2 separate regions of the Homo sapiens genome follow, and region 1 is linked to region 2. Evidence: promoter capture Hi-C in 16 types of primary human blood cells and fetal thymus (Javierre and others, 2016). All regions are on one chromosome and are shown on one strand. The core of a region is centred on a gene start or on the middle of the fragment in contact, and the rest is flanking DNA. Distances in the headings are between cores, read along the strand shown.

The links. Contacts are between HindIII fragments. The CHiCAGO score rates a contact against its expected background, and 5 or more counts as called.
Region 1: a fragment that was not itself captured here is called in contact with the fragment with the promoter of SOCS6 in region 2 in 2 of 17 cell types (monocytes and M2 macrophages); the score reaches 7.8 in monocytes.

The regions. Positions count from the first base shown.
Region 1 is chr18:70,489,726-70,494,301 of GRCh38, reverse strand. LOC105376872 (a long non-coding RNA gene) reads right to left here. Exons shown (of 3, transcript XR_935606.3): 3 at 3,037-4,247. Among named protein-coding and RNA genes, the nearest start is that of LINC01910, 110 kb to the right of the region's middle. The HindIII fragment of the contact is 2,319 bases long and covers 269-2,587 here.
Region 2 is chr18:70,287,193-70,291,142 of GRCh38, reverse strand. It overlaps SOCS6 (suppressor of cytokine signaling 6), which reads right to left and starts at 2,098. Exons shown (of 2, transcript NM_004232.4): 1 at 2,053-2,098. RefSeq lists a silencer at 1,363-2,262. The HindIII fragment of the contact is 7,416 bases long and covers 1-3,045 here.

The sequences.
Region 1 (4,576 bases), core at 179-2,678, 200 kb before region 2:
GTTCAAGGCCACAGTGAGCTATGATCATGACACCGCACTCCAGCCTGGGCAACAAAGTGAGACCATGTCTCTTAAAAAAAAAAAAAACAATTGAGTAAGAATAATTGTATATTGAATCTTTTTCTCTCCTTGAATTGAACAATTTCTCTGAACACATGAGTCCATGGAAGAAACATTTTTCCTCTGTTAACAAAAACCTTTCAGACAGTTTTCTTTCAGGTCACTTTTATACCAAACACTATTCTTCCTTTCTCTTTTTTTTTAAGCTTATAATGTTGATTTTAGGAGTAACCTTCACCACCACCTACAACACAAATTATACTCCCTTACCTTGCCAGTGAAAATTCTAAAACTTCCCCTGCAGCAGTCATTAAATAATAAATACTTTACTGCCATGATTTTATCCATAAACACTCGATGGTTTACAGATGGATTTATAAGGATCCCCAGGGAACTATGACTGATCACATCCTATGCCAGTTCTTCTCCACATCCCCCGACCACACTAACTCTTCTCTAGGCAGAGATATGACAGTCACCACTGAGCCATCTTCCGAGGAACACAGGGGTCCCTCCTGACAGCAGAAGTTGCTAGAACGGCTGGAAATACACGTCCAGCTGGCATGCCCACTGACGCGTGTCCGTGGCCCAGTGCAGCTCCCTGGGAAGTGTGTTGCTGCACCGTAGGCTCCGCAGCAGGGAGTGTGCTCCCAGGATCACCAAGCCCTTCAGGTTCCAAGAAGAAAGCAGACTAATAACTGGATTCACTTTTGACAGCCCTTTGGAAGCCCTGTCCCTTAGCACCACTACCAAAATAAATGCTACTGTGGCCAATTCAAAAGTTCTTTCTTTCAACTTCTCTTACTTAGACAAATACTTATTGAAGAGCTATTATTTAACGAGTATTGTCCCAGATTCTAAGGCTATAGTACTGGATGTACTGCAGCATTCTTCCTCCATTGGCTCACAGTAGTGGGCGCCACAGGAAAGGAAGCAGTTAAAATACTATAGGAATAAAGGTGAGTGGACAGACTGTGGTACAGCCAGACAATGAAATATTATTCAAAAATAACAAGAAATTAGCTATCAACCCACGAAAAGACATGGAGGAAACTTAAATGCAAATTTCTAAATGAAGGGAGGCAGCCAGAAAGGCCTTTATCCTGCATGACTCCAACTGTACAATATTCGGGAAAAGGCAAAACTATCCAGAGAGTAAAAGGATCAGGGGCTGCCAGGAGCAGCAGAGAGGCAGGGATGAACAGGCAGAACACAGAGGATTTTTAGGGCAATGAAAATATTCTGTATAATATTACAGTGGTGGATATATGTCATTAGTCACATCAAAACCCACAGAGTATACAACACCCAGAGTAAACTATGGACTTTAGTTAATAACCATGTATTAATATTTGTTCATGAATTATAACAAATGTCTCATATTAGTGGAAGATGTTAATAGAAGAAACTGTACAAGGAAGAATAGATGACAAATCTCTGTACTATTTGTTCAATGTTTCTGTAAACCTAAAATGGTTCTAAAAACTAAAGTCTATTAATTTAAAATCAAAAAATGTATAGAAAAGTCCCATTTTAGCACCAATTGCATTTTAGCACCAGTAACTAATAATGACTGTTCAATGTTTCACAGGCCTGTTGGCACTTAATCTTCAGAGCAACCTGTTACTCTCCCCAGTATGCAGATGATAAAATGAAGGCAGTAAAGTTGAATTCTTTGCCTGGATTCACAAAGTTTGCTATGGGCTGGCCTAGGTTTGACTACAGAACTCAGGTCTTAACCATAACAATCTGTGTTTTGCCTCTTCCCTAAAAGACACCATATAAACGTCTGTGAAATGGGGGAAGTATTCCCCTTGCCTTGGGTGGAACTGAGGTGGAATCACAAAGTTCTTACTGTGTTCAGAGTACTAATCTTATTTAGGCCGTGGAAGACTGGAGTCAATGCCAGTCATGCCCCAGTGTAAAATAGATCAGGCCAGAGGTGGTTAGGACTGTATATGATGACTCTTCTGTACTGAACCTCTTACCAGTCATTGTTGATCTGGGACAAATGGAGAAAGGCTCTTTGATAATAACCATATTTTATGAGGAATAATCACTTTAAATAAATGACCAAAAATGTAATGACTTAAAGCTAATCTTTAGAACATCAAGCTATGAAGTACCTCCTCCAAGATTGTATTAGTCTTCCTAGTGCTGTCTGGTACCAATATCCTACTTGTAGATAATGAACCGGGCTCAAGTAAGTCCTATTCCAGTAGCCTCACCAATGCAAAGCGAAATGGAAGAAGCCCCAAAAGATAGTAGTAGAGGAAGACTCTATCTGCATAAAGATGCATGGCCACAAGAGGGCACTGCAGACACAATGTGGAATGCAGATGCCCACAGGTACCCAGGCGGTCACTCACTGCAAAGAGAACCAATGGGCAAAAGTTAACTCGCTTTCCAATTTTAAAAGACAAATCATGACTTAATCTACAGTAGTGACTGAATCTATATTTAAATCCCAACATGCTGCAGAGCTATTTAGTATTATTCAGAATTAGAATTATTTCCCTTAAAAGCTTCCAAAGTAATATTTAAATACTATTAATCTGTATCTTACTTATACAACTAAGTATATTATATAGCAAGCAATAAACCTAAATAAAATTGCTAGTCAAATTGAGCATGGATTAAGTGATCAGAGAATGTCATACTTCTTCAATTCTGCCCAGTGCTTATCAGAGCACCGTTCCTTCACTTAGTAGGAACATGTTACAAACTGTCATTAAATATATCTGATAAATTAGTAATACATCATCAGAACACAGCCTACAGTTTTTGGGATAAGGGATTTTTAATATAAAAACCTTCTTGAGTGTTTTCCTACTGTAAGAAATTTTTAGTAGCTTTTCTCCTGTATTTATGTGATGCAGGCTTTGATCCCAGGAGACTGTCTTAACTCTGCAAATGCCAGGGAATCCATATTTACATCATAGAGATGGGCTATGGCAAATCAAGTCAGTAGCATTGGATGGTACCAGTTTAGTTTATTCCTTAAATGAAAAACACAAAGGCTGTGCATTAACTCATAGGACCAGCTAACAAAGGGGTCTCCACATTGTCAAGTTTAACCAAGAGCAAACGGGTTTTAAAACACACCTTTACATTTTTATAATGGGGAGATGAAGAGAAGAAAATTGTGCGTCAAATGTTTTCGAATACTCATATCCATATGTGGAAATAGAAATTAAAATATCATCGTAAGAAGTTATAAAAAGCATTTGTGCAGAACCACAATATTTTGATACTATTCAAACAATAATATCTATCTTAAGGTTTGAAAGAAAGTATAACATTAGGCATCAGGTTTTTTTACTTTTTAGTTTATGATTGAGAATTAAACCACAATATAAAACCAAAAATATTTTCAAAGAGAATTTAGAAGTTATGTTGATTTATGCAAGAAGTAGTGTTATCATATTATTAATACATTAATTAATACAGCTACATTTAAAACCCTGTAGACATGGGTGTACATACCAATATTTTTTCTCTTTATTAACAAATAGAGGGAAATTATATGCTACTGTTAATCTAATTTCCTGCTTCACAACCCTCTTTTAATTTCTGACATATGTTTATGTCTGAAACAGAAGAGCAAAGCACTTGCAAACACCCCTGAGTTAAGCCTAACACTTCGGGAACTCTTGAGGATTTGAGCGACTGGTGTGGAGAGACTGTCAGTATGCAGTGCCCTCTGCTGGCCAAATTATTAAACATCGCGATAAACAAAATTCCCAAGTGTTAATATTACAATGTGGGGGAATAAAACTAAGATTATTTTGGAATTAGCCCTATAATTCCGGAGAGTCACCATTCACTACCATAATTCCTTAGTGAACAGAGATTTACTTTTATGGAACAAAACAAGCGCAAAGCTACCTGGTACAAAGAAACATCCCCTGCCAAGAATGGAATAGAGAGTGAGACTTCTTATGCCTGCCCAGGTCTCAGGTCCAAAGTCACCCCAACTGTTACCTCTTTCTCAATCTTACCGCCCCTCCTCCATGTCCCACAGCCTCTCCGTGCTTTCACTTCCCAGTTCTGCTGCAATCTTTCAGCTTGTATCTTCTCATTGGAACTGTGAGCTCATCCAGCAGAGATATGTGTCACTCCTCCTGGAAGCCTCGGACATTACAAAAATTCAGTAACTGTCTGTCCAGTTTGGGTTTCTTCAAAAGCTGTAGAATTAATCATAGGGCCAGAATCAGCAATGTTGCAATGCAGTTCCCGGTGATGAATTTAGGAAGTTGTCCTGGACCCCAGAAGTGAGACTTTTAATCATGAAGAGTGGTGAACACAATGTGTGTGGCATAATAAACCTCTGGCTGTGTATTCATTAATTTTAAAGAAGAAAACGAGTACAACATTGCTGCTAAGACTTAGACGGGCTTCTGTGTAGAATTTCCATTTGGCTTCCAGGACAGATTCTTGGGTTCAGAGGCCACTAAGAAGGGGGAAGGAAGAGAGAGAAGGCAAACTTCTGGGCCAAGGTTCAGGGGAGGTGGAG
Region 2 (3,950 bases), core at 849-3,348:
AGAGGAAAAACAAAAAAGAAGATACTTGCTTTCTGTTTCCTAAAAAAAGGGGGGCCATTAAAAGAACACCTTTTCCAGTTCTAATGCAAGAATGAAGAAAAACACTGGAAGGCAAAATGACTAGAAACCCAGTCAGTACAGCACCATTTTCCACCCTACGCCCAGTCAATGGCTCTCAAATTCCTTCCCTGCCACTCCCTGCGGGGTGGGGGGCCCACCAAGAGAGGGGGTCATGGGATGACCCGAGGGTGTGCGCTTGGGTGGGAGGCCCTGCTGAAGAGAAAGGGGCAAGACTACCAATTTAGAGGGTAATTTAGAAGATAACGATAAAGGTAAGAGAGAAACAGTGTTTCAAAAGAGATGCTGAATGGAGTTCTAAAAAAGTATAGATTCGGGTGAATACCTGGCTGACCCTTACCCAGGCACAAGCGGAAAGCCCTGGCCAAACTCCAGATAGAAGTTCTTCTAGGAATCCTTATCAAATCCACTGTCCACGAACCAGGTTCCTCCAAGGCACCAAGGCAGGCTTAGGGAGGGTGTTTGAACCAAAGGGTTAAGGCCACATATTTAATTTAGAGCTGAATGGATCCTAGACCTTACCATATCCACGCGTGCACAAAACCCACTAGGAGGAGAAATTAGAAAGCCCACGGAAAAGTATTACAGACTTTTTTTCCGGTTTTTGTGAAACCTGGTGAGCAATGCCATTCGTGTTTTTAAGTAAGGCTGTCCACAGCATTAAATATTACAATTAAGATTCGTTCATTCAAGTAAGCTAAATGGATTTAATGTTGTGGTAGTTGGTTAAAAACAAGTCAAGATAAATTGCTACCTTCAGTGGTTGAGAAGATGTCAGATATTTTATCTTGAAGTAGAACGTTTACTTTTGTTTGATTCCAAATGTATCTTTATCCCAAGGAACACAGTAAATTTAAAATGTCTCTGGGAGACGTTCAGTGTGTAATTCACGTTATTTCTGTCATTACTGTGTTCTCTGTCCTCATGCACAGTGCATGCTGCCTTATCCGGGCAGACGTTGCAGAAACATTTGTTGAAATGAATTCAACATTATTTATTTTGCTACCGGAAGACTGAGTCCCGCCACATATTCCCACCTGGCCCTTCATTCCAAACAGTGGGGATGGGAACCCCAATTTCACATTCCAACTGAACGTTAAGTTGGCACACACACTACTGCACATATCCCAAGTTTTGTGCCAGGATCTGCCCCTGAGAAACGTCCATAATTCTGCTCCGTGAGCCACAAGGGTGTACCTGAAGTTGCCAACTCCCGAAGCAAACTGAAAATTCAGGCCCGTGTCGGTCCCAGGAGCGGTTTAAATTCCACAATCGTCCGGTCCCTACACCCGGGTGAGTGCGCAGCCGGCCGGCGGCACCTTCAGCCGCAGAGCAGCCCCGGCCTGCACCTCCACCAGCGCCGGCGCGACCTCGCGGTGGGGCGGGGGCGTCCCCGAGTCCCAGCGCCGCGCCCCAGGCCCGCCCTCGCGCCTGCGGCCTCGCCGCGCCCCGACCCCGAGCCCGAGCCCGAGCCCGCGGAGGTCCGAGGAGGGACCCGGCCGGGGCGCAGAGCCGCGCAGGCCCCGCGCCGCTGCCCAGGCCTCGCGGAGCCCCGGCCTCTCCCCGGCGAGCTGCGGGCAACAAAGGCGGCGGCCCAGGCCGGCGCGCCGCGGCCGAAGAGGCCGAGGGGTCGAGAAGAGCCGTCCGCGGCCGCGCAGGCCTCGGCCCTTCAGGGGCCGCCGCGCCCCGGCCCCGGCTTCCCGGTTTCCGCGTCCCCGCTCCCGGGACTGGCCCCGGCCCCCGTTCCCCGGCCCTGGCCCCCGCCCGCGCACCCGCCGAGACGGCGCAGGGCCTCGCGCTGACCCAGACCCGTCGCTGCAGCCCCGCGCCCGGCGGCCTCCCTGGCCCGGCCCGCGCCGGATCCGCCCCCTGCACTCCGAGGCGAAAACCAGCCGTGTCCCGGACCGCGGGCGACCCGGAGGCGGACGGCGAAGCCCTGCCCCTGCCTCCCGCCCGAGCTCCCCGGACGCTTACCCGGAGGCGGCCCGGCTCCGCTTCCTCGCCCAGCGCCGGCGCGACTGCCGCGCTCGCCTTCTCCTCTCGGCAACTCCTCCTCCCGCCTCCTTCCTCCTCCTCCTCCAGGAGGGGCGCGCGGCCGCGGCGCCTCGGCCCGAGCGGGGAGCGGGTGCGGAGGAGCCGAGCGGGCCGCCCCCCGTCCACTACTCGGGCCCGCGGCGCAGGCGGGGCGTCGGGGCGCGCGGGGCTGAGGCCGGGGGCCGCGCGGGGCGGGGCGGGGGCCGGGCACTAAGTGGGGGTTCCGAGGGGAGGGGCGCCGGGCCGGGGTCGTGGGGCGGACGGAGCGCGGAGCCCTGATCCCTTCCCCCACCCCCGCGCCCCTCCGCTGGTGCCTGCAGGAGGCCGCTCCTCCGGCCCCCAGAGTCCCTGTCCTGGTTTTTCCTTTGGTGCTTTCCCTCTGGCGGGGGTGGCCCCGGCTAACGCGGAAAGGAAAGTCTCCTCGTTCCCCGGCCCCGCGGATTTGGCGGCTGCGGTCCCTGTCCCCCTGTGGCGGGCGGTCGGACCCCCGCACTGCCCAGGTCCGCTGGGCTCGCGCGGGGACCCCGGCCTCGTCCCCGCAGGGAGGGGACCCCAGGACAGACGCGCGCGCACGCTGTGCAGAGCCACAAGTGGGGAAACCCTCCCCACACCTCGACTAAATTGTGAAAAATGCTTTTTAAAAAACCAAACATTCCTTGTTTCAAGCCATCCACTTTTCCATTTAGTCGTTTTCAGGGAGGTTTTGTACAAGGAATAGTTGTTTGTGCCGCCGAATTCCAAGGTAGTGTGGTATACAAGTTGCATGTTGGGATCTTGACTAATTTCTTTGGAAACTGGCTGAACATACTACTAATGTATAGCAGTACCACAAAAACTTGATTTTTGTGCATAAGAATCAATAGGAAAATTTGTATTTCTCTTACGATGAAAAGTGGTTAAAAAAATGAATATCATTAGTATTTCAGTAAAGCTTGGGGGGAGATAAATATTAAAATCTAATGAGAATTATTGTGGACTTTAAAAGTTGTGTTTCTTGAATAGTATGGACCTTTTTAAAAGAAAACCGAAAGGACAGAGAAAAAAGGGCTAGAAAAAAAGTCTAAAAAGCTGTTCAGGTATGAGTTGGTACCCGAATTATATCTCAATAAAGTTGTTAGTTACAAAAAAGTTCAAGTCCAGTAATCTTAATTCCTATGTCCAATATACAATCTGGATTTCCCCAAGAAATCTAGATTCATAACAGAAAAGTTGGATCTTTAGGTGATGCAAAGTTGATGTCATGTATCATACACTATCATTGTCATCTTCAGTTTTTACTTGAATTTATTAATAAAATACTACCATTATTGTTACCGTGATTGAAATGCAACACAATTCTCAAATATCTAATTACAGTGATTGGAGAATGTAGGTTGAAATAGAATTGTCAGAGAAGTTAGTGGGAAACACAACAAACAGTAATTAACGGTGGCTCATGCCTGTAATCCCAGCACTTTGGGAGGCCGAGGCGGGCGGATCACAAGATCAGGAGATCGAGACCTGCCTGGCCAACACAGTGAAACCCCATCTCTACTAAAAATACAAAAAGTAGCTGGGCGTGGTGGCAGCTGCCTGTAATCCCAGCTACTCAGGAGGCTGAGGCAGGAGAATCGTTTGAACCCGGGAGGCGGAGGTTGCAGTAAGCCGAGATCGCACCACTGCACTCCAGCCTGGGTGACAGAGCTAGATGCCGTCTCAAAAAAAAAAAAAAGAAAAGAAGCAAACGTTTCAATCCTACTGCCTCGGAGTTCCAGTGTCTCCCTATATTTTCTAAAATGACAACCAGTAGGAGCTGTGCAGCAGGGGGTTAGTGAGCCTTTCACGCAGCAATGGGGCTG